Regions from separate parts of the Homo sapiens genome. Here all the other regions are linked to region 5. The links are contacts of gene promoters, found by promoter capture Hi-C in blood cells and fetal thymus (Javierre and others, 2016). All regions are on one chromosome and are shown on one strand. The core of a region is centred on a gene start or on the middle of the fragment in contact, and the rest is flanking DNA. Distances in the headings are between cores, read along the strand shown.

Region 1 (4,179 bases), core at 1,060-3,559, 1.1 Mb before region 5:
TATATGTACCATATGCATTTTACAAATATTACATTTTATTAATATACACATAAGAATGAATTAAAATCCTTTAACATTTGACTGAATGAAGCCTTGATACTTTTTACATTTAGATTATCAGCATTTTTAAGGGGAAAAATTATAATAGCACATAAATGCCTAATATAAATGAAAACTTTTTATTCTTATTTGAAAATAAATTACATTTTAAGTTATTTGGTCTAAAATTACTGGTTGTTAGCCTTTTATGGGTTTACAAAGAACTCATACATATATTATCACATTTGGTCCCCACAACAATCCTTTGAAATTGATTCAAAATTTACTTTTAGTTTATTGTTATTATTTTCCCATATTTATAGATGTGATCACTAAAGTACAATTAAGTTAGTGACTTGTTCCCTGAGAACCAGGGCTCTCGCTTGATTGTAAAATGAAAATTCTGGGCTCTTCCCACTGTACTTGCCTCTCTCTACACATGTATTCAAATGTTGTTCTTCTCAGTAAGATGATGTATGCTTTACAATGTTTCCCAAGCTAGTCCTCTGAGAGCAGGACCAGACACATGTCCAGGCTCCCTCACTCTAGCACCTTCATCTCTTCATGGACAAAAACATGTGTGTAAAACAGCTGTCCAGAATTACAGCACAGCTTGCATGTCAGTGGAACCTTGGGCCATTATCTAAATGACAACTTATAGGAAATGAAGTCGAAAAAGGCCAAGCACGAACTATACTGAAGACTAAAGTTCCCTTTGGAACTCAATTCCCTGGGTGTTTAAAAGGAAAGCTTCATCTGGTCCTTAATTTATTTGGACCTAACATAAAGGCTAAAGACTGTGAAGCCTTTGAAGATATAAAAACTTTTTTTTTTTTCATTCAGCAGTGGTGAATTTCCTTGCCAAAGACTTCAGCATTAGGGGAAGTATTATGTTAAGCTCTGCATCCCACAGGGGTCATCATGACTTCTAGAAATATCCACAAGGGAGCACTGGGCGAGGAAACTGGAGCTTAAAAGTAACACACACATGCCAGTTGTCACCGTAGTTACAACAGGAAAGGCCCTAAGAGGAGTACTTTTTTTTTCTTTTTCTATAAGCTGTGAGATACAAGCCTTGTGTGATTTAGGATCGCTGGGGTGAATAATCCTAGCTCTATCTGCAGGGTTTTATCGTGGTTTCCCTGAGTTTAAACATGTAACAGGGGAGCAGAAGGAGGGATAAATGATTTGTTTATGCTCAATAAAGATGTTGCTGCTGTTCTGTCAGCTAACCTTTGCTCTCATAACCTGCATAAACTTGCAAAGTCTTTATTTATTCTCCTACCAGCAAATTATTGGAATTCATAGTCATGTCTAATTTTAGTTAGCTTAGGGATGGCACTCAACAGGGTTATAAAAGGGGGAGAACATCTCTCTCATTCCTGAATTTCCAAGGCTGGATTACGGTAAAGCTGTGGAGATCACAGTAATTGAGGTTTCCCAGGACACTCCCATAGTGGGTTATGCTTCCCAAATCTGGCTTTCTAAGCATAATGGAATCTGGCCTAACCTGTCTTCCAATATTTGAGTCTCTTCTATAGCACCCCTGTCACAGTGGTTTGTGTTCTTCACTTTGATAAAAACTTTTTTGGGGATGCATCATTACAGTTTGAGCCAGGTGATTTCATCTTCAGGCAGCTGTGATAGATAATAATACACAATAAGAAACAACGAACACTTTTTAATGGATTACTATGTGTGAAATACTATAAAACTGCCTGTAATTTCATTTGATTCTCAGAATGACCCGATGAGGTAGATAACTGTTATTATCACTTCCATTTTACAGACAAAAAACTGAGGCTTAGAATAGTGGAGCAACTCCTGCAGTGCCACACAGCTATGAAATATCAGGTCAGAACCCAGGGATACTGGATCCAAAAACCTGAGAGGAAGCTATATATCCTTTAACTTCTTCACCCAAAGCTGAAATCTGCTTCCTAGTTCTATCCTCCAATGACCCAAGGAAAAGAATCTCTTCCGCTACTTGCTCTTCAGATATTTAACACAACTTTCAGGCCTTCTTTTGCATTCTTTTCAGGCCACAGGACACTGTTTTTCGGTGTTCGTTCCCCCAACCCCCCCAAACCACGTATTTTTCTCATTTGGCTTATTGCAGTAGCTCTCTAAAGGTCTGCCTGCTCTGTTCCCTATTCTTCACCCAGCAGCCAAGGCCATGCTTAAAATACAAGTCAAATCACTTCATTCCTCTGCTCAGAACACTTCTGCAGTTTTTCCTGTCACTCGAGGTAAAACCTTAAGTCAACTTGAAGATTACAGAATTGAATTGTCTTACTGAAATTACCTTTCCAAAATCGATGGTTCCCAATTATGCTGAGCCATAACAATAGTCTTCTTAGTCTTAAAAATAAAAATATTCTCTTAATCATAAAAGATGAAAAGGCCCCATGATACGTTCCCCATATCCCATGCCCTCCTCCCTATTCATACTTGTTCTAGGCACAGAGGCCTGCTTGCTGTTTCCTGAACATGCCAACCCCTCTTCCTGGAATACCTGACTTGGAATATCCACACCTGGTTCTTTCCTGCCCCTCTTTCCATCTCCCCTTCAGAGTCACCTTATCAGTGAGGCCTCCTCTGACTGTTTTATCTTAAGTAGCAAATCTCTCCCCTCGCTGGTATTCTCTCTTTTCTTTCATTTCTCTATTTTTCTCCATAGCACTTATCACCAACTGACTTACTGTTTATCTTACTTATTTGGGTTTTGCCTGCCCTCTCCCCCTTCCACCCACATTAGAATGTAAGCTCCGGGAAAGCAAAAAATTTTATCTTCTTAGTTCAATTCTAAGGTTGAATCCTAAGGAACTGGCCCACAAAATAACAATTTCGTATGGGTCAACCTACCACACCCCCAGCACCTAAGAGCAACCCTTGGCACACGGTAGCACTCAGGCAGTTAGTGAGTAATCAACTTATCTATATATGGAATACTACAAATACTATATGATACAGCCTTTATACACTTTACTAGCCTGGGTAAGAAATTTACCATCAGCTGGTCAGATTTGTGATATCATCTCTGTAGGTCTTCCTAATCCTATGCGGAGCCAAATATAGACGGATATGCAAATAAATATTAAGAACACTTTTGCTGATATATTGAATCTAGTTTTTAACAGTACGGTGTGATTTTTTTTCATAGCACTCACTGGTAATTTTAACACTCGTCTGTCAGTCTTAGAGCAACCTATGTTCAAAGGGGCAACTTCCCTTATCGATTGGTAGGATCTGTTTGAATTCAAGGTAAGTCTTTCTTAAGCTAAATTAAGGCAGTGATTTTTGCACAACCACCTGCCATAGAATGACCTATTTATCTTACTGCCACCGTGCTAACACAGAGGAGTGAGTATTCTTTAGAAAATAACGATGAATTAATAATAATGTTCCACTTGGAATATCTCTGTCGATCTTTAGCTTATAATGAACATGTAGCTGAAAATCACTGTAGAAACAAACATTTTCACAGGGCACCATTTGCTACTGGCAGATGAGACATAGTATATTTGATTTACTTTAACAATGTTTCAGCCATTTTGTTAAAAAATGCCAGAAATTCTAGCGTTAAGAACTAGAAGCACTATGATGGAATATATTATACAATAAGATAAGAAAACCTAGGATAATTATTGTAGGTCTGAAAGAGTAATCCTTATTGTTGATCACAAGGTGTTGTAGAAATTGTTGTCAAACCCAAGTCAATCCCTTTGATTACCAGTTCAAATTATTCACCGTTAATTGGCAGCACTTCTTATGGAAAGTTGAAGCTTTTTGTTCTCATACATTGAGAGCCAGGAGACAGCTTAAAATGTTTAAATAGACATAAAAAAGTCTTTTTCCCCCTCATTTAAAAAACCCCTTATGAATCACAAATCAGCAATAATTCTCACATTCATCTAAAAGTTAATATAAAGCATTAGTTTTTTTATACCCACAACAAAACATGGACCTGCAGAAGTTTTCAAGCAATTCTCCAGCAGCTTCATGCGGGTCTTCTGGAGCTCTGGGCTGTCCCACTCATCTTCTTCCACTCCCCAGTACAGATCTATGACCTGGGGACAGATGGATGAAGAGCATTAGTTTACATGTGGGCTTTGTTTTTATTTACAATGTCAAGCTAAT
Region 2 (4,346 bases), core at 1,106-3,605, 1.2 Mb before region 5:
TTTCCATTTTGTTTGTAATGCATTAATGGTCACAGTAAAAGCAAAATACTCCATCATAGCTTCCATAAAATGCTATTTGTCAGTTACTCATCAAGAGCAGGCATATAGGGAAATTAGTCACAAAGCTGAACTGAAATGAAATGTTTGAGAATTCTTAGCTGGCTTTCTGAACATGGGCAAGAATCAGGTACATTTTTCTATTGAAAATGGTCCTTCTAAGTGAATTGATGATGAGAGGGAACTCTCTGTGTCACTCAAGGGAGGAAATATATGTCACCACTCCAATTTTCTGACTACAGATGGGCAATTCCTCTTCACTGCAGGCTGGTTAACAGCCACAGGCAAATGGAAAAATCCATGCTGAATGAGCCAGATGCCCTAAAACACAACTCACAAAGGTAATTTCTCTTTATTTTCCCACTGGAAGGATTGCTGGGGAAATTGACCTGTTAGCTCTGAGCTTCTTCATTACTTAAGATACATAGGACAGATAGCAACACACTTGGAGACTAATACTAGGAATATTAGAATGGGTGGGAAGGCAAACTAATGGTAAGGGATTTTAAAAGGGGCAATTTACCCATATGTATCTGTTTAGATTCTGTTGATTTCCAAAGTTGCTGAAGCTTCCAGTTTTGAGATGGTTGGGGATACAGAGTCTACAATCTTAACTCCAGTTACCTGCTACTTACTGATTTAGAAAATATGTGAGACAGAAAGGAAATGTCTAAAAGTTTCAGAAAGGAAAACCTGGTCTAGTGATACTCGAACCTGAGCATGCATCAGAATCATGCATCTGGTGAGCTTGTTAAAACACCGGGCCTCTCCCTAGAATTTTTGATTCTTTAGTTCTGGAATGAGGACAGGCAATCTGCATTTCTAAGCAATTCCTAGGTGATATAGATGCCACTGGCATGGGACTGTACCTGAAGAAGCAGCATAAAATTACAATCCCAAGTAAAAGCATAGAGTTTAGGCCTTAAAGAAACTTACAGAAATTAAGTTTGTTCTGGAGAAAGAGGATAAAAAAGAAAACCATGTTACCACCCCAAAAGATTGAGTCAGAGGTCACTTCACATCAACAATAGGCAGAATTGGAGAAAGAGGTCTTAAGTGGGAAAGAGAGCTATTTTAAAACTAGGAATAAGGGAAATATTGGGCCACCAGGTTAAATGAGGGATTTTTCAACTGAGTGATCTCAAAGAGAAATCCTTCATCATTTTAATTCAAAAGTAGTAACTTTAAGATATGTAGCTAATAAAATAAGGGCATTGGAAAGAAGCCAAAAAATTCTTTTAAAAATACTTATCTTAACCAAGGTGTCTGGAATTAAAAATAATATAAACTGGGGTTAAGCTGAATCCAGGCCTGTTCCTACTATATTCTTGGAGCCAGAAGATGGCCAGAGAGGCTTAAAAAGTGAGGTCCACTGCCTCAGCCACCCATGAAATGAAAATGTGATTGGCTCTGCTGGTGTGACAAACTCCTTATCTAGATATTTCTTGAGAGACTTGGGTGGGAAAATTACAAAGCCATAAGCATTGACCTTCATATGTGGACCTCATCTGCAACGTCTCTAAATGTGCAACTAAAGACACAAGCCGCCATTTAAAAAGAACATTAAATATGTTGCTTTCAAAATTCAGTATTATAAAATGTGTACCTTTCTTGATGAACTGTCATGCTTCGTTTTTATCATATGATGAAAAATGTGAAATTTACTATGTTCCACTTTTTGTCATGGCAGCCAAGAAATCCCATGTTGTCTTCTGTTCACATCTGGCGTTTTCCCTTGAAGGCATTTCTGATATAGTTGTTTCTCCCTAGCTCCTTATTTCTTAGCCAGCATTCATTTTTGTCTCTTTTAATGTGGAAAAAAAAAGCAAAGGCAAAACTAAAAACTTACTGTTTCTTTTAATATAAGTTTCTGTTAAATTCTTTTTGGCATAGATATGATTATATATAGTGAGTTAAAAAAATATAACCCTGTTTAGTCACGAATACTTGCAAAGCACATAAGAGTCTGTTTATAAAGATAAGGCTGACCCTAAAGCAGGATGTCCTTTTTAGGGGCCAAAGGTTGTGGCAAAGACCATAGGCTTTGAATGCAGACTTCTGGGATTTGAAACCTGTCCCTGCCATATTGGTTGGGTGACATGGTTTGCTGCACCTATGAACCCGGCATGTAGGTTTTAAACTCTGCATGCATTAGGTATTTGTCTTAATGCTCTCCCTCCCCTTTCTCCCCACTCCTCCGACAGGCCCCAGTGTGTGACGTTCCCCTCCCTGTGTCCATGTGCTCTCATTGTTTAGCTCCCACTTATGACTGAGAACATGCAGTGTTTGGTTTTCTATTCCTGTGTTGTTTTGCTGAGGATGATGGTTTCCAGCTTCATCCATGTCCGTGAAAAGGACATGAACTCATTCTTTTTTATGGCTGCATAGTATTCCATGGTGTATATGTGCCACATTTTGTTTATGACCCTGGATAAGTTATTTAACCCCTCTAGGCCTTGGGCCTTAGTAAAATGGCCTTAACTGAAGTACCAGCCTCCAAAGAATCTGGTGAGGATTAACTGATGTTTGAATAGAGTGCTTTGAACAATGCCTGCCCATGGTAAGTATTTGGTAAATGTTATCTATTTTAATTCAAAGTAGTGGTGATGAAACTGTGCAACTCACTCAGTTGCGGAGTTAAATGGTGCTGCTTCAATGCATGTTTCTGGACAATGACAGATCTGTTTTCAATTTAGAGTTGATTTGGAAGATAGGCTTCCACCAAATGAGTGCTCACAATGAGACCCTTCTACAGCCATAGCATGGCCAATGCAGAACCCAGAGGCAGTGGACAGAGAGAATAACAGAAAGATGCAGTAGAGGAGGGAGGGAGAAAGAGAGAGAGAGAGAGAGAGAGAGGCTGTTCCCAGGGTAACAAGTTGCTAGGGACAAACATTTGGCAAGGGGTACTGGCGAGAAATTTCCTTCGTCAAGCAATTTCCTTCAACAATGTCTAATGAAAGTGATCTGTACTTACAATGAACCTGAGAACGCTGGGGAATTGGTAATAAGGGCTCTGAAGTCACCTTCACTCCAGAACGAGCTACTTTATGGGGGCTGGCAAGTCCGACTCTGCAGGGCAGGCTGGCGGCTGGAGAACCAAGGTGAGAGCTGGGGTTGCAGCTCAAGCCTGAAGGTAATATGCAGGCAGAATTCCTTCTTCCTGAGGGACCTCAGTCTTTATCTCTCAAGCCCTCTTCAACTGATTGGATGAGGCCCATCCACATGATGGAGGGTAATCTGCTTTACTCAAAGTCTACTGATTAAAATGTTAATCTCATCTAAAAAAGTACTTTCACAGAAAAATACAGACTGGTATTTGACCAAATACCTGGGTACTCTGGCCCGGTGAATTTGACACATAAAACTAACCCTCACAAGGACTTTCCCTAAACCTCAGGATTTTCATTAAAACCTGAAGGAAGGGCAATAGGCTATTGCAACACTGTAATGAGAAGCTCCTAGACACACCTGCTGGGCTGACTAAAAAGTGGCCACCCTATTCCTGAGATGCTCATCCCTATCACCAACTCCCAGGCTATCTCACTGAAGACTGGAGACTGGAGAGGGATTCATTCCAGGAAACCAGAGGAGTTGCTTCGCTTTTTTTTTTTGCAACAGAGTTTCACTCTTGTCACCCAGGCTGGAGTGCTATGGCACGATCTTGGCTCACTGCAACCTCCGCCTCCTGGGTTCAAGCAATTCTCCCACTTCAGCCTCCCGAGTAGCTGGGATTACAGGCATCCACCACCACACCCGGCTAATTTTTGTATTTTTAGTAGAGATGGGGTTTCACCATGTTGGCTAGGCTGGTCTCGAACTCCTGACCTCAGTTGATCCACCCGCCTCGGCCTTCCAAAGTGCTGGGATTACAGGGGTGAGCCACCGTGCCCAGCCTCGCTTTGCTTTTTACTTTCCTCAGATTGAGTTCCACTTCTCTCATCAAGGGAGGGAAGTTCCATCTGTAGAGACTGGGCAGATCACATTTGACTCCCTGACTGAGACCTGTTGAGCTGAAGAAGCTTATAGAATCCTCTCCAGTGAACACATCAGGTGGAACACACTTAGAGATTTCTTGAGAGAACCTGAGATGTGGCTCCAGGAGCTTTGGAGGATTTGAAAATATGGAGACTGGTTCCTGCTTCCCTTGTAAAGAATAGTGACGGCAACCAACTATGGAGAGCTGCCCATGAAGTCAGGATAAGGTAGCCTGTGCTTCCAGAGATGGGCATGGTCAGGGGTAAGGAGGTGTGAGTTTCCTGAATTAGAAGGCATGACAGAGTCAGGCT
Region 3 (4,197 bases), core at 1,213-3,712, 1.2 Mb before region 5:
GCTGGCATTCTATAAAGCTAGAGGTGCTGCTTTTATTTGTATCCCTAGATTACCAGTTTTATGTAATCTGTCATGTTGATACACTGAAACTGAACCCTCCATGTGTCCATACAACGTGTAATCTGTACTTCTTGCAGATCTCTTGGAATGCCAAATTGAGATCTGAGGGGCCCTTGTAAAACATATGGAAGAAAAACCTATGGTTTCTTGATGCACACCAGGGTGAAAACACCATGATTCACTTCATTTTTTAGGTGTGCCCATGTTTTCACTGACATGTAAATTGTTCCCAGCCAATGAGTCATGAAAGATAGGAAAGCTAATTTTTTTGAGTGGATTTATCAACATGGTTCCAAATTTGTGAAAGAGTTCTAAAAAACAAACAACATTAAAAACATTATGGTATCCGTTTATGTTATAGCCCAAAAAACTCCCCACACCATATTAGGCATTGCAGTAAGGGCTCCTTGCAATCCATTGCAATCTCCTTACTGAGAAAGAAAGAACTGAGTGGGTTTTTATTTGAGTTTTCTCCATGGGATAGATAGACTATTTCTAATGGGCTAGATGGATGTCTTACTTTTAAACTCTCTAGGTCCAAGTTTGTTTTGTGATTTTCCCCCACTTTCATCCCCTGTTCACTTTACATTTGTAATTCTATCTACTCAATTCCAATTGGAACTGGAATTATTTGAGTTTTCCCTCCCCTTCATCAAACACCTCTATCCATTAAGCCCTGAAATAAATCTTGAATTGCCCCTACTCTAAGCAGGTTCTAAGATCAGGTTCTAACACTTTCTAACTGAGATCATGGCCATGGTCTTTACTGGTCTCCCAGCTTCTGATCTTTTCCATCTGAAAGCCATCTGACAAAGTAACTGCCCTTCCCCAAAACTTTTTTTCCCAGCTCCCTGTTGAAACCAGCGCAATTTTCCAACAAGCCAAATGCCCATAGCACTGAAGCTTGAGAAACTTACACCTGCTGCCTGTTGACCAATTCCTCTTCCTTAACCCTCCCTAATTCCTGTTTTCCTATAGGAGGTTACAGTGAGATGCTAGACACCTGCTGCCTATTGAGCAACTCCTCTTCCTTGCCCTGCCTGTTTTCTCCCCCCATATAAACCCCAACTTTAGCCAGGGGAGATTCAGATTTGAGTCTTGTCTCCTGTCTCTGGCTGATATCACCCATAATAAAGCCTTCTTCCCTGACAATACTCATTGCCTTAGTGATTGGCTTTCTGTGTAGTGAGCAACAGGACCTAGGCTGGGCCCCTGGCTTTCAGTGACACTATTGACTACTGAATAAAGTCTAAAATCCCAACAGCATTTGAAGTCGCCTGAAATATGCTTCAATGCCCATTTTTGCTCATGCAGCTTCCTTTACCTGAAATGTCTCTCTGACATTGACAGCTAAGTCCTAATTATTCTTCTAGCCTCAGCTCTATCTCCTCTGGGTCAACCTTTTCGATATTCAGGTAGTGTTAATTGCTCCTCTGTAGTGTATCCTCAGCACCTGGCTCTCACTCTTACTAACTTTGAAATCAGTCTCATCTGGTTTAGCTGTGTCTCTTCTAGACTGTAGGGTTCTGGATGGCAGGAGTCATGCGTGACTTTTCAAATCATTCCAGGATCTAGCATAATGCCTTGGGCATAGCAAGCATACAGTGTTGACTGTTGTGTTCTTGGCTCTAGGAAAGAAGATATTTAAACAAACTCTATTTATTTGAAATGCTTTTTTGCAAATATTTATTAACTTCTCTACATTTTCTTTGAGAACTAAAAGGAGAGGGGTTTAGCCTTTTCAACCTAAAGATATTACCCTTTGTAAGTAATGGAATTGTTTTCAGTGGTGGTAAATTTTGAACACGTTAGTCTCAGCCATGTGATGCAGGCAATAAACCAGAATAATTTATTTTCGTAACACATTAAAGTTTCTCTGAGAACAATTATTTCATGACAACTAGATACTAGCTTTCAGATTATTTCCTATGTATCATCACTTAAGCTCACCAATACTCCTCTGTTTCTGTTTTTTAAAAATATTTTTTGGTGCGTGTGTGGATTCTCAGATCCAAGAGGCAAGAGATGGAAGAAAGGGCATGTGGGAAGGCTCCCCTTGGTCCTGCTCGTTCGCGCAAAGGGAATTTATGAGAGAGACAACTCCTCAGTCATCACCCTTCTTCTCCTTCCTCCCCATCCTTCTATTAATGAATTCATCAACTATTTCTGTATACCTGAAAAACGTGAGAGTTTGCAGCAAATTTCAGTGATCTTCAGAGCTAGCCCAGTCTCCCACCTGCAAGTTAGAAAACACCTTGCAGGTCATTATTGATCTCTAAGTGCCTACTAGATACTAAATGCTCTGTTTTGATGTACTTTGAGAAAGTTAAGGAAAAAGACACTGAGAGTGCACTGAAATCTTGTTCAGCTATTCTCCCTGGACCCGTTTCTAGGTTTCTTTACCTATACATTTGGAATGCTAACAGTACCTACTTCACAGGGCTGTTGTGAAGTTTAAATGGCTTAGTACATGCAAAGCTCCAAGTACAGTGCCTGGTGCAACATAAGCAGTAAGCATGAACAGTTATTATTATTACTGAAGGTCTCTAATCACATCTGCCAAAAATGGGGGAGAAAAACAGCACGCCAATCTAAGTAGTTTATCTTTTATTCATACAAATAATACATACACAAGACTGTATATTGTTTGAAGACTGAAATAATTTTCTAGTGTAACAACTCTGTAACAAAATTTAACTAAATGTAACATTTATGAAAATATAAATCTCTGATTGGGTAATTCTTCCCAACGATACAAAGTTTACATAAAAACATTCAATATGAGCTATCAGTTGCAAACAAGTTAGGAAAAATCATTCAAGTCACTTGTATACTCTATTGGCTTTTACATAGAACATTCACATACTACATTTAATCCATCTAGGCATTTAATTCTTAGAAATGTGTGGCATGGAGGTTCAACTGATAATGACAGGAATGAGAATGTGTTGCCTAAAGAGCTCAAAAGCATAGACTCATATAATCAACTCCAGGTGATCTGTATGTGGTTTGCCTTCTCTGGGCTACCACCTCCCTGGCTAGTAGCTAAACCATAAGTAACATACTGAAAAACATCTTTCACTATGGACCTGGGTATTTTTATCTGAATCACATCTTTGAACGCTTACATGTTAAACTGCTTTCCAAGAGGAAATACAATTGACCTGGATTCTCTATGGGTTACATGAATTTATTTTTCCTATTAGCATCAATAATCATGATGTTGCTGAAGTTTTTCTTATACTGCTTCCCAATGTCCCTATGAGGGCTACAGCAGAAACTATCACTATCTTTATTTTGCACTTCACAAAAACAACACACTGATGAAGTTAAAGACCTGTCTAGGAATACACAATGAGTTTATGGCAGAGCTGGGCCTAGAGCAAATCAATTCCTTGTTCATTATTCTAGTAAAGTGTTACTTCTCTACTTTCTAAGAAAACTAAACTCAACCAAAAGTGTGGATACCTTTTGAAAAGTTATCCAAGGACATGCCGTAAGGAGGATATGGAAGAAAGAACAATCATCTTCACCTTTTGAGATGCAATGTTTTCTTTTAAACAGGTGAATTAATTTTAAAAAATATTTAATACCATTCCACAGCTTCTGCTTTGAAATGGATAGGACTATAAAAGGCTCAGAAGAGTCCTCAATCAGGAAGAGTAACAGATAAAGAAGCATACAGATGGTGTGTAGAAGTAAGAAAGTGATTACAAACAAGGACAATAAAGAACTTTTGGACACCCTTAAGATTTATGGAATATTTTAGCACAAAGACAGGCATATTCAGTTTATCCCAGAGTATTTGGTCATCTATCTGCATTTTACACAGGAAAGAGAAGGAATGTGAGTAAGGCAAACGTCATCAGTATCTCAGAGATGGCATGTTGAGAAAGCTTGCTTTCTATGAAGACTAACTGCAGGAATTTAGGGAATATTTATGCTTCCATACAAACTGACCAAATAGTACAGACTTCTGTTAGTACAATGATGGAAATGGACAGGTGTTTTGACCAGATTTGTAATGCCCTTCCTGTAATCTTCTTTACACCCAGCACAAATATGCATTTCAAAAAGATGCGAAAAGATTGTTGTTTCTTACTAAATGTGTTCTTTTGCAACCCAGGAAATAGTTTA
Region 4 (4,499 bases), core at 753-3,252, 1.1 Mb before region 5:
TTGCGAAATACAAGTATGCCTGGACTAACTTCTTTAGGGCCTTGGGCTAACTTGTTTTCTACATTTCATGGGTGTTTGCTGTGTTTTCTTCTCTCTTGAGAAATGTAAAATTTTATTTGTGAGATGCTGGAGCAGTGACACGCATCCAGGAGAGGACAGTCCAAGCTTGCCCACAGTGTCACGAATGTCTCTGAATTAGACTGAACAGATAAAATATTCAGATCAATTTTGAAATTTAAAAAAATGTTATCCCACAAAAGCAAGAGAATTTTCTCTTCAACATCAATTCTTTTGAAATGTGACTTAACTACTTCATAGTTGAATTCTTTGGAACATTGATTTTTAAACTTTAATTTCTCCCTTTGTAATGAGATTTATATTCAAATATAGAACTGTTTATAGTATTTTCATTTCACTTCTGCAACAGATGGGCTGTCATTTCAGCTTGGTACAGAACCTCTGAAGTTGGAAATGTGGTTACAGGTAAATGGGGATGGGAAATAGAATACAGATTGACTTTAGATGCAGAGTAGCTTTGGTATTAATTTCATAATTGTGTATTTCTGTCCTGTTTGGAGCTTTCAGAGGATAAAATAAACACAGCCAAGGGAGGATGCCCAAAGCAGCAGTAGTGGGCTCTGAGGGAGCGGCCTCATGGAGTTGGAGGTAGTCCTGCCCTGACAGATGTTAATCTCCTCGCACTCCAGGTGGCAGCCATACAGAGGGATAACCCAGAGTCTCAGTGGCTGATCCCAGTGACGCTGAGAGAAGACAAACCTGGGGATGTTAAATGGGATTCGATATCCCACTCCAGGTGTTTCTATTTGGAGGAGCTCCATTAGATTAACACCCGGGGCTCTTCTCCACCTTCACTCACTCCACCCAGGAGAGCAGGAGTCACTGATGGTGACGTGGGAAGAGGAAGTGGGATATGAGTGACTCGGCCCTCTCTACCTCACTCTGGGCTCTGTCTGCTCAAATCCATGCTAGCTGTGCTGGAATTCAGCTCAAATCCTCCACAGGGCACATTTCAGGCTTCTTGGGGTGGGGCTAGGGCTTGGGGGGAGGCTTGACGTGTTAGGATCACCAGTGGGTGGTTCATTCTGTCTCTTGAAAGATTATTTTGCTCGACATTAGGATCTAAGTCATTTCCTTCAATAGCTTTATCATAAAAAAGGTGAGATTTTAATCTCCATCTACCTGATTCCTGCAACCACCTTTCAACTGGTTCTGAATTTAAGCAGGAGAAAGAAGAGCATTTCCTGATTGGCTAAGTCCCTAACTCTTGGGCTCCATCAAGACTGGGGGGAACGTTTATCTTAAATAGTTTGTCAGAATCAATACAGAATGTGGATGAAGCCTCCGAATTCCACCTGCCTGCTCACATTCTAGCTTCATCACTTGCTAGCTGTGAGTACTTAAGAAATTAAAAACACCTCTCAAAATAGCATTTGTAATATGAAAATAATGTAGTACTTACTTCACAGAAGTTTTGGTGAAACAAAATGAGATAATGTAGACTATTCATGAAATCCACTTTTTTTTTGGCTTGTGATTCCTTAGCATATAGTTCCTAATAATAACCATAGCTAGCATTTATTTAAGGCATACTATGGGTAAGACCCTGTGCTAAGCAACATAAACACAATATCCTATTTGATCTTCATAAAAATTGTATAGTAAGTTTTAATATTATTCAAACTTTATAAATGAAGGAATTAAAGCCTAGAGGGAGAAAAACATTTGTCCAAGGTCACACATTATATGATAGAACAGATATGTAAATACTGATGGTCTGATTTCAGAGTCCGTACTCTTAAACAGTCTCCCCCAAAATAACATCTGCCATTTATTGACTGTCTACTGCAGCACACATTAGGAGCTGTGTCTCATGTAATTTCCCCAATCCTAGGTAGGTTAAGAGTCCGGACTTTATCGTCAAACAGATGTGGTTTTGAATTCCAACTACAATTTTCTAGCCTAGTAGCCCTGGAGAAGTTAATCTGAACGTTTATTTTTCATCTGTAAATTGGTATAACAATACCTGCAACTCACAGGGTTGCTGTAAGGATTACGTGAGAAAATGCTTAGTGCTTGACTCACTAGAAGCAATCAATGAAATGCATTAATTCTTATTCTTATTTTAGAGATGAACATAGAACAAGTGGCGGAGCCAAGTTCAAATGCTTCTTGCCTTTACTTTTCGGTTGTTTCCAGTAATTTCTGCTCTTTCCAGTGCTAATATATGTAATATATATATATCTGAAAGATAACACGGGGTAAAGCAGTGGGCTTCCAGTTGTATTCTATGGAGCCATTTAGGGCCTCTGCGGGTGGGATGGAAATAGGTACAGGTAGGAGAGAAGTCCAAGTGCCCATCTGTCCCCTACTAAGAACAGTTACACCTTCATTTGTAACAGAGTTTGATGCAGTTTTTATTTAATGAAAGTGTTCCTTGGCAAAACAAAAACAAAACCTCCCTGAGAGCCACAGGCTTGCAGTCAGGAGGCCTCGGGTTGGGACTACTTCATCATCTACTCATGTACGGTCTGGGTTAGTTCTGCTCCACAATTCCGTGTCTCAGTGAACCCACACCAACAAAAAGCATTATAAAATCTGAATACCTCCTGGAGGTATTTAGAGGATTAAATAATAAAACATATGTCATGTGCTTTTTGAAATACAAAAGCATGACACAAAAGGGAATGTACCCTGAAACTAGGCTATTAGGGTTTGAATTCCGGCTCCCCACTTACTGTGTGGCTCTGGGAAAGTTACTCAACCTCTCTGTGTCTCTGTTTGTTCTGTGAAGTGCAGACAACAGTACTATCCTCATCATTCTGTTGGACGGACTAAATGGCTTAAGTCCTTCCAACAGAATTATGTTGGATGTGTTTGCTACATTTATTCTTAGTCTTAGATTTGACCGACTACATTGGCTCTGACCATCACAATTCTTCCTGTGAAAAGCCTGCAAAACAGACCAGAAAGTGTTATCCTTAGGTATAAAAACCACTGGATAAATTTATGAACCCTGTCATGTGGTTTTCCACTGAATTACCAGACCACTAGAATGAAAGATTTTTGGGGGAGTTGAGTGGGGTAAGTGAGGAGTCCAGATTATCAAGGATTTGGCAAGTTTCAGATTTCCTTTCCACAATTAGCTTGAAAGTTGAGTTACAAAATGTGAACTGCAATTGTAAGTAGCTTTATAACCTTAACACAAATGAATACGAGCAATTCCATTAGTTTTATAGTTTCTACTTGTAAAACTATCAAAACAAATGTTTGTTCCCAAAGCAGCTTTAAAACAACAAATAAATCCTTGTGAATTTCAGCAAAAAGCCTAATTCTTTAAACTTCTCCATTTTTAAAGAAATCTGTTGTTGAGCCCAGCATTACAGAAAAAGCCTAATTTTTTATTTTTATGATTTACAAAATTACATTTAGAAGGACACATGGAGTGTATAAAAATAAACACTTTCACAAGAGTCACCAAATGACAAGTTCTTCTGGCTCAAAGGTCACTCAAATTAAGAAAAAAAATAAAAAACAAACCATTCAGGGAAACAAGGCAAAACACAAGTGCCAGCAGAATGGTGATTGTGTAACAAGTTGGGGAATTGTCCTAAGATCCTGGCAAAATTAGGTTAGAATTTGGCTGGCATTTGCCATTGTTACATGGGAAAATGGACTTCCTTCCGTTCTTGGAATTGTGGTCCACCATCCAAAATGGACAACAACTGACACCCTGTCACAATGTTCACTTTCTTAACCAAAAGTTTCTAATACTATGATTTTGGGGGGACTGTTTTTCATTTTCTCTTCGAGGAAGCTTAGATAATAAAATTGAACTTAAACTCGTCCATAAAGATGACTGTCATATTTATTTCAATTCAGACATCAATATAGGAGAGCAGAATAATGTTTTCCAAATCAAAGCCAGTTAATATTTTGTGAAGTGGTTGTTGGCAGGGACGTGGAGCAGACACAGGAACATAAGTTCGGGAGGGTGGGATATAGGTGGATGAAGGGCATAGAGAACCATAGAATATTTTCTTAATCATAATCAAAGTTAGGCTTAGAAATCCATTTTTTAATTATAAGAAGTTCTAACCTAAAATGTTTAATGATTAATTTTTAATTGAAAAATAATAATTGTATACAATTACAGGGTACAACGTACTGTTTTGCTATGTTTACAATGTAGAATGATTAAATGAGGCTAATTAAAAAAATCCATCACTTCACATACTATTTTTTTTGTGGTGAAACATTTAAAAAATGTTTTAAAGTTATTTTAAGTTATTTAAACTTATTAAACTTCTAATACATTTAAATTAAACATATACTTTTAAGTTATTCAAACTTATTTTAAATTATTAACTATTTTAAATTATTTTATTTTGAAGATGTCTTTCCTCCTGAACTTTTCTTTTTTTTGAGATGGAGTTTCACTCTTGTTGCCCAGGCTGGAGTGCAACGGCGTGATCTCGGCT
Region 5 (4,385 bases), core at 862-3,361:
AGCATTTACCTTTATTTCCCCTCAGAAAACATAAATCCAGAGATTGCATTGTATTTGCTAAACACTGTATTTTCAAAATGCCAAACAGTGATTAATAATTTTTAAAGAATAAATGACTGAATAATAATCAAAGAACTAAGATATTTTTGCGAAGAGGGAGAGAGACAATTTCTCAATTAGTTTATAAAATCTACCAAGCGAAGTAACTTGAGGACAAAGCAATGATTGAACCTCCCACACATAAGATAACTGATCTAATAATTTTTATTTATAACCCACCTTGTTTAGAGAAGGACCGAAGATGGCTTACAATGATAAAAATAGAGCCAGGCATGGTGGCTCACGCCTGTAATCTCAGCACTTCTGGAGGCCAACGCAGGCGAATCACTTGAGGCCATGAGTTTCAGACCACCCTGGCCAACATGGTGAAACCCTGCCTCTACTAAAAACACGAAAATTAGCTAGGCGTGGTGGTGCATGCCTGTAATCCCAGCTACTCAGGAGGCTGAGGCGGGAGAATGGCTTGAACCCAGGAGGCGGAGGCTGCAGTGAGCTGAGATCGCGCCACTGCTCTCCACGCTCCAGCCTGGGCGATACAGCGGGGCTCAGTCGAAAACAAAAACAAAAACAAAAAAGAGAGAGATAAAAAAAAAGAGAGAAGTATGTGAGAATTTGGAGAGGGAAAAGGGAAAAAGAACAAAAGAAACACACACACACAGAGAATGAAGCCAGAAAAGAGCCACATAAATAAAATTCCTCCTATAAATGCTATAGGAATCCAGAGAAAAAGTTCCCGTGGTTTGGAAAATGTCAATAAAACTTTCCTGGTGGAAATGAGGTCGGCTATGAGGTATTAAGTTCAAAAGGAACTGGATATTTGGTGTCTCTAGTAAGACAGAGCTGCTTCAGAGTCTCCCCAGGGAAAGACGGTGCTTTGGGCAGGTAGTTAGTGTGGGTGAAGGTGATGACTGAAGAATCCTAAGGGCCCAGGCTTGTGGGAAGCCTCTCTCTTTCCGCACTTCACCAATTATCTCATTTTCATAAGGTCTGCGCTTTCCTTAATTGCTTCACTTCCATCAACAGGAACAGGGGAAAGATAAATACATTTCACCTTTTAATGAAGAGAATTTCAGGTAGTCTGTGGGAGATGTTTATAAAAAAAAAAAAAAAAGCTGGTAGGGGGCAGTGTCTCACGCCTGTAATCCCAGCACTTTGGGAGGCCGAGGCAGGTGGATCACTTGAGGTCAGGAGTTTGAGACCAGCCTGGGCAACAAGGCGAAACTCCGTCTATACCAAAAATACAAAAAAAATTACCTTGGCTGATGGTGCGCGCCTGTAATCCCAGCTACCTGGGAGGCTGACGTGGGAGGATAGCTTGGACCCAGAGGCGGAGGCGCAATGAGCTGAGATTGCCTCACTACACTCCAGCCTGGGTGACAAAGTGAGACCCTGTCTAAAAAAAAAAAAAAAAAGTAGTTGGTCTGTGAACTCACTTGCAAATAACTGGATTTTACGGACGCTTAGATATTTGGAGGTCCACAAGGGTTCTTTGGGATCCCCTATTTTCCTTCGCTGCCTCCTTTGTCAGAGTCCAACTCAAAGGGGAAATGCCCCTCTGGGATCTAACCGCCACAGGTGCAAGAAGGAGCAAATTTACATAGAAGCAGCCTGGGGAAAATAGTGCCCTAGATGAGTCTTCAGTTTGGGAAACGCTGAGCTAACACTTTAAGTACTTGGAAGAGTAATACTAATAATCAGTCGTGGCGAGGTTCCGCCCATTTGACATTCAACCCCCCATGAGTGCGCACAGACAAACCCACTGGCCAGGAGGAGCCAACACAAGGTCCTGGGCATCTCCGTCCCGGGAAGGTGGGTAATGCCCCTGTCGCTCTGGGCTCCAGGGCGCGCCCCCGCAGCTTCCCCAGCGGGGTCTGACGCCTCCGGGCCGAGGTGCGCCAGGTGGCGAGGGTGCCAGGCGCGGCCAAGTCGCGGCGGTCTGAGTCAGTCACCCAACTATGCTGCGGAACCAGGGAGGCCGGCTGGGCCGCCCCCGCCGTTGAGCTCCGGCTTCCCCCGCGCGGGGCGCCTGCTCCCCGCCCCCGCGGGCGGAGAGGAAGCGGCGGCCGAGGCGAGGCGCGGGAGCACCTGAGCAAGGCGCGGGCGCCGGGCTCGGCGTTTCCGGAGCTGAGCGCGGGTCCGCGGCCCGCGCTCCCCGCCTCCAGGTGCGGCGGCCGCGACACGCCGGCCCCACTAACAGCGCCGCCCGCGCGGCCGCCGCCAGGCAGCAGAGGCGACTGCGGACAGCCGGCGGGGACCGGGAAAGAGGAGGCCTGGCGCCTCCGGCAGAGGGGCGAGGACCGAGCGCCCAAGGCTGGGAGAGACGCCGGCGCTGAGCTTCCCAGCGCCGCCTCACCTCGCTTTTCGAACTCCGCGACCCGAGCGCAAGGCGAGTACCCGGGGCCTCGGGAAGGCTGGGCCGGGATGGCCCACGCGGGGGTGGGAGGACCCTGTCTGGAGGGGCTGGGGCTTTTCGACACTTCACCGGGTAAATTTCCTCAGCGCAAAGTGCTCGGCTCTGGTGTCCGCCCCTTGGATTTCGCTCCCGCGTGTGGGCGTCTGAAAGGAAACCAGAAGCCGGTAAGTGATCCAAGAACTCCACTTCTGGGATTTGACCCGGGAGGGTGAGGATCCGGATAGACAGCTGGACACTCCCTCCATTCCTCTCCCCTACCTTTAAATAAGAAGAAGCTGTAGTGAGTTTCAGGCACCAAGTTATTTACTCGGTAGAGATCATGAATTTGCCCGGGTGTCTGTGCTGCCCCGCACCCTGCTTGTTAACCACGTTAAGACGACTGGCCTGTTAATTAACTTTAATTACGATCATTTGGCTTCCACCTGCCTGAACCCGATACCTTACACGGGAACCTGTATGATGTGAGTTTACCAGATTGATCTTTCTTGTTTACTTTTGGAGACAGTTCTCTTGGGAGAAGTGGTGTCCATCCTATTTAATAAAGTAAGTTTTACTTTATCTAATTCTGGCTTGTTTTCTTAAACACCTCCTACCTTGAGGTGATCTGGAGTTATTTTGATTTGGGGAAAGGGTTCGTGGATTATATAGCCTTTGATAATTAGAGGAAAACACAAGAAAATAAGCTAATTTGTGTGGAATAATGACATCTTAGGGTGTTGTAAGTAGGTATCCTGATAGCAAATTCTTTTTTTTTTTTTTTTTTTTTTTGCAAGCTTGTCCTTGAAGTAGGCTGTTCAGTAGAATACAGCCTTCGGTTTAAAAAAAATCAAGAAGTGTATTGAAAATAAGCTATTTTTAAAAGTACATTTAATAGGATGTCATTGTTATTACTCATAATAGTATTGTACTTACAAGCTCAGTATTGATTTATCTGCACTTAAGCACTCTACACCCCCACAGGCCCATGGAACTTTGCCCGTAAGTAATTGGAAGATAAAAAGCAAGCTAACTTTTTTTAAGGAAAAAAAGAGAAATACCTTTAAACTCTTTTTTTTTTAACTCTTATTTATGACTTCCATACACTTACAGGAGAAATATTGAGAGAAAATACTCATGACATTTTTTGTCCAACAACGTTTAAAGAAGAAAAAAAAGTGGGTCATGGAACTAGGCTAGGGTTAAGTGCAAATATCTTCCTGGCTTCTTTCTAAACATATTTAACACATACACATTTAAGGTGGTTCCTAACACGAAGAGGGTTTTATATAGATTTGTCAGTACTCAAAGATTTATTTGAATTAAAATGTACCTAGAGGGTAAGTGAGAGAGCTTGTTAAAACGTATTTATATGGGTGTGTGCTTGTGTTTGTATTTTTTCCTTCGTCTGTAAACCTGTCAGATTTTATGTGGCTTGTCTGTAAAAGGAGAAGCTGATGGTACGTTTAAAAACAAATTCTTGTTTTTCTAATATCACTGCAAGCTCCTTGCAGTGTAAGGCTCATGGATATGCAATAATATCAGATCCAACTATTCTTGGATACTGTGGAGAAGTATAGAACTCAGATTATAATGAATTACAGTTTTCTTAAGAACTTTAACGCATTGAAACTATGAAGTTTTAAAGTCTACGTAGAATTCTGGGTTATAGACTTCATGATATATGAGAAGTTTTTTGTTGTTGTTGTTGTTTCGTTTTGTTACTTTCTAACCCACCTCCCTGCAACTGTGAGAAAGTTTGGTGAAAGTGACTATAAAAATGCTAAGTATAAATAATAGTCATTGCTTTAATAGTTTTCTTTTAGCATACATTTCCACCTGTCCTCATTTATTTATTGATACATTTCTTGGATACAATCTTTGCACATGCTACATTGTAAGAGTTTTGGGAATTCTTGGTGAAATATTAATTAGG
Region 6 (4,148 bases), core at 1,289-3,788, 1.2 Mb before region 5:
GTGAGCCAAGATTGCGCCACTGCACTCCAGCCTGGTCAACAGAATGAGACTCTGTCTCAAAAAAATAAAAGATGATTCCAGTGATTTTGATATTTATATATATAGAGAAAAGAGAGAATATTACGTACATATGTTAGAGAGAATAGCACGCATATATGTATACACAAACATACCTAAGAAACATTTTATAAAAATACAAAGCAAGGTTATTAAGGGCTATCTTTGGGTGGTTTTAAATTTACATAGGTCATTTAATAAGTTTATTATTTTTTATTAAAAACCTTTTTTTGGTATACATATATATTATTTTGTAGTGAGAAAACCAGCAGGTATTTAAACATTTTAAATTTAGTGGTGTAGGCCGGGCCTGGTGGCTCACACTTGTGATCCCAGCACTTTGGGAGGCCAAGGCGAGCAGATCACCTCAGGTCAGGAGTTTGAGATCAGCCTGGCCAACATGGTTAAACCCTGTCTCTACTAAAAATACAAAAACTAGCCAGGCATGGTGGTGTGTGCCTGTAATCCCAGGTACTGGGGAGGCTGAGGCAGGAGAATCGCTTTAACCTGGAAGGCAGAAGTTGCAGTGAGCCAAGATCGTGCCATTGCACTCCAGCCTGGGCAACATAGTGAGACTCCATCTTAAAAAAAAATTAGTGGTACTGCCTATTTGCTTTGTGGAGCAACACTTTCAAGGTTGCTGAGAGTGTCTGCTTACGCCAGTAGTTCTCACAGTGTGGACCTGGAACCAGCAGCATCTGCAACACCTGGGAACATGTAAATTCTCAAGCCTCATCCCAGAGCTACTAAAAACTAAACTCTGGTTACAGAGCTGAGCAATTTATGTTTTAGCAAGTCCTCCAGGTGGCTGAACTTCTGGTTTAAGCTAATAAAACTATTAGCTTATATAGCACTTGGTATTTCAATTAATCTTCATCTTATCTAGCAGAAATAAGGAGGGAACACAAAGGACCTCTTACATAACCCTACAGTAACCAAAGCAATTTGTCTGCTTTATTGTATCCATGAGACACTTTCTGTTCAATCTGGGGGCATTTTTCTTCTTTCCTCTTGTTGATTAGCATTTTAGCATAAACATCAAGCTGTGTTTATCCACTGGAAGGTGAATTTCAGGTCTGGTTTCCCTAGGGGGCATTTCTGACTACTTCTATTGCCTATCCAGTATTCACAGTGTTCTTTTCATCTGATACAGGCAGCTGAAAGATTAAGAGAAGTCCTTGGTAGATCTGTGTCCACGTAAATTCATGACCTAAATTCTACAACACAATGGTAAGCTCTCTGAGGGAGAGGCCAGAGCTGTTTATTCCTAGCTCATAGAAATGATTAAAACACATTTGTTGACTAAATGAATGAACCAAGACAGAGAAAGAAATCATTAAAGTTTGTTCTGCTCTTCTCTGAAGCTTCTTTCTGTAGTCAAATAAAATAGTTCAGCTCTCAATAGGTAGAGTAACAATTTGGGAAGGTACCAGTTTTGTGAGCAATACTCAATTCAGCTATATTCCTTAAGCAGGTACTGTATAAACATATCCCTGGTTGGACCATGTCCTCTCTCTCTCCTTAGCACATAAGCCATCTCATATAACTGGTTTACTGAAGGTGACTGTGGGTAACTGAATTCACTGCCTCAAAGCTCAAGCCTCCTCAGTACTGGCCTCAATGACCAGAAAGGAAGTAGATCTAACCTAGCTGTTCTTTTTGGCTGCAAAAGTCCCTTTAGAAGGGGCTAGAATGGAGGGATGCCACATTATTGGTATCTATTATTTCAGCATGGTATATGAGGCTTCTACAGAGGGTGTGCTAATCCCAACCCACTGTATTAGCCTGAAGCCCAATTAAGAGCACTTCTATTTTAATCTACATTGGGCCAATCTTGATAACAGGTTTATGTAACACAAATGATGTATCTCAAGTTGTTTCCCAACTTCTAATGGTTCCCTCTTCCAAAATCTCTTTTGCTAAGCAAATAGGCATGACCTTTTATTTTATCACACACACAGAGGAACATTATCTCTTTTAGGGTAACCAACCTGGTGATTATCCCATTATCTTGCCTAATTCTGGACACTCAGCACTCTTTGTCAGGGTTGTGTGCCACTAAGAATGAGGTTTTAATGCTCGGATGTGCCATCGAACAGACCCACATGGGCAAAATAGGGAATAAGAGAATGTCTAAGCAGTAGGCATTGGTAGAATTCAAGAAAGTATACAGATGGAGTTTGGTCATTGGTGGAGGACCAGGTAGACAGGCAGCACATTAAATATGGGATTTAGTAATTGACAACACTCCATCTAGTAGCCAATTAGGTCTTGGAATATCATGGACTAGCTACTACAATCCAAGGCAAGACCAGCTGGGTTTTGGGCATGAAGCAGGGAAGAGGAAAAAAGAGAGAGAACAGAAACAAGATCTTGTCCCTGGACAGCACCATCATGACTGCACAGCAATGTACTGTTCGTTCTTCAACTTCTTTCTGCTCTAAACAAGGCTGGTCTTAGAGACTAGGATTCAGTCAAATCTATGGATTGGTTCCTAAAATATGCTCCACAGATCATCTACTGGATGATATGCTCCCTGGATCTCCCAGGGTACTTGCTAAAATGTAGGTTGCTAGGTCCATTCTCAGATGGAAAGAACATTGTGAGTGAAGATTCCAAGGAAACTGCATTTTAAAATGAGGTTCCAAAGGAATTCAGAAGTTGAGAGCCATTGCTATGGGCAGTGCATATATGGTCTCATGAGGAATGGTTAACGAGTACTGAAGGGGCAGAGCCTGGACCACAGAGGATCATTTCAAAAATCAAGAGCTATTTAAAAATAATAATTTCTTTCAGTTGAGCACCTGGCACCAAATACTGTAATTATTTAATCGATATAGTAAGGCAGAATGTTCCTTAAAGATTACTAAAGAAGAAAAAATATCCTCATCCCATTCAAATAACAAATACATATTGAGTGCCTACTATATATAAAGTGGTAATACAGAACTTCAGAAAAGTAATAATATGCTACAGGCTTAAAGTTACTTATTGGATTGTTCTCCCTTACTCTTTTCCTTCTCTCTATTGATTCTTCCTTTAGGTGGAATGCTCATAAATCATGAATCAGTTAATTTTTAGGAGTCTAAGACAGGATTCTACCTCAGTCTTATCTTGCTATTTGAGAAACAGCAAAAGTGAATTTTGCTTCCACATTTTTCAGTAAGATATTTTTGGTTTGTGTATGTGTGTGTAGTTACAGTTCTAAGATAACACACAAATATTTACAAATAAGGCAATGCACAAATATTTTACCAGGACCAGAGTCAATTTAGAGAAGGGGGCAGTCCAACTCAGTTGCAAAGTCCAGCTCATACGGTCAATGGACCAGAGCAGGGGTGGAGATGGAAGACCAAGTTCAAGAGGCTAGCAGCTAAACTCTAGGCAGCAAGATGGATTCCACTGTTTTGTTTCCTAATTAGACTATTCGTTAGATCTGCAGCCATGGGGAGTATCCATGAATGACTTTAGGGCAGCCACAGCAGCTATGAGCAAGAAGGCATCCTTCTCTGTTCACTGGCAATAGAGTATTCATTCCAGCCACTGAAAGAGAAACAGATTTTCCACATCCTTCTGACCCCAATTCTCAAAAAGCTTGCTTTTTGCTTAGTTAAACCAACTTTGCCAGTTTGTAGGGAAACACTTGGTGCAGAGATGAGAGACTACATTGAATTTTGCATTGAAGTCCACTTTTATGAGTTACACTGTTGATCCATCTGCCTATGACCCTAGACAGAAGAAATGCATATGACTGAAAGAATTTTCTTTTTATTGAATAGTTTAAACATTCTGTCAATACATAGGTGAAAATAAACACATGGGATTTTGCCTGTCTGTAGAAATCTATAGTCACCTCTCTCCCATCCACCTTACCAAATGTGGAAACACATTTAAATTGGCCTATTCTTAAACACTGAAGACACATAATATCAGCTAGGCAGAAAGCAACAATACAACACTCAAATATAATCTGGGGAGTTAAGTCCAAAAGGCTGAAAAATCTAAGAAAAATTTATCAGACTTTTATGTAGTTTCTGCATGTATAATTCTAGAATAATAAACACTTCCTAATGGTTTGGAACTGGATAGAG

What was found. The method cuts DNA at HindIII sites, captures the fragments that hold promoters and counts their contacts. A CHiCAGO score of 5 or more calls a contact.
Region 1: a fragment that was not itself captured here is called in contact with the fragment with the promoter of ARAP2 in region 5 in 1 of 17 cell types (M0 macrophages); the score reaches 6.0 in M0 macrophages.
Region 2: a fragment that was not itself captured here is called in contact with the fragment with the promoter of ARAP2 in region 5 in 2 of 17 cell types (M2 macrophages and M0 macrophages); the score reaches 10.2 in M2 macrophages.
Region 3: a fragment that was not itself captured here is called in contact with the fragment with the promoter of ARAP2 in region 5 in 1 of 17 cell types (monocytes); the score reaches 5.0 in monocytes.
Region 4: a fragment that was not itself captured here is called in contact with the fragment with the promoter of ARAP2 in region 5 in 2 of 17 cell types (M1 macrophages and M0 macrophages); the score reaches 8.3 in M1 macrophages.
Region 6: a contact is called between a fragment that was not itself captured here and the fragment with the promoter of ARAP2 in region 5, in 1 of 17 cell types (M1 macrophages). The highest score is 5.8, in M1 macrophages.

The regions. Positions count from the first base shown.
Region 1 is chr4:37,356,296-37,360,474 of GRCh38, reverse strand. It overlaps NWD2 (NACHT and WD repeat domain containing 2), which reads right to left. Exons shown (of 7, transcript NM_001144990.2): 3 at 3,993-4,109. Among named protein-coding and RNA genes, the nearest start is that of PGCKA1, 96 kb to the left of the region's middle. The HindIII fragment of the contact is 3,035 bases long and covers 792-3,826 here.
Region 2 is chr4:37,396,359-37,400,704 of GRCh38, reverse strand. All of the region lies in intron 3 of NWD2 (NACHT and WD repeat domain containing 2), which reads right to left. Among named protein-coding and RNA genes, the nearest start is that of PGCKA1, 55 kb to the left of the region's middle. The HindIII fragment of the contact is 3,453 bases long and covers 629-4,081 here.
Region 3 is chr4:37,447,919-37,452,115 of GRCh38, reverse strand. It overlaps NWD2 (NACHT and WD repeat domain containing 2), which reads right to left. Exons shown (of 7, transcript NM_001144990.2): 7 at 2,653-4,197. Among named protein-coding and RNA genes, the nearest start is that of PGCKA1, 3.9 kb to the left of the region's middle. The HindIII fragment of the contact is 2,993 bases long and covers 966-3,958 here.
Region 4 is chr4:37,377,676-37,382,174 of GRCh38, reverse strand. All of the region lies in intron 3 of NWD2 (NACHT and WD repeat domain containing 2), which reads right to left. Among named protein-coding and RNA genes, the nearest start is that of PGCKA1, 74 kb to the left of the region's middle. The HindIII fragment of the contact is 3,670 bases long and covers 168-3,837 here.
Region 5 is chr4:36,242,240-36,246,624 of GRCh38, reverse strand. It overlaps ARAP2 (ArfGAP with RhoGAP domain, ankyrin repeat and PH domain 2), which reads left to right and starts at 2,111. Exons shown (of 33, transcript NM_015230.4): 1 at 2,111-2,446. It overlaps LOC439933 (a long non-coding RNA gene), which reads right to left and starts at 2,509. Exons shown (of 5, transcript NR_122079.1): 1 at 2,414-2,509; 2 at 1,315-1,453. RefSeq lists a silencer at 1,736-2,315. The HindIII fragment of the contact is 5,605 bases long and covers 1-3,248 here.
Region 6 is chr4:37,425,243-37,429,390 of GRCh38, reverse strand. All of the region lies in intron 3 of NWD2 (NACHT and WD repeat domain containing 2), which reads right to left. Among named protein-coding and RNA genes, the nearest start is that of PGCKA1, 27 kb to the left of the region's middle. The HindIII fragment of the contact is 2,230 bases long and covers 1,424-3,653 here.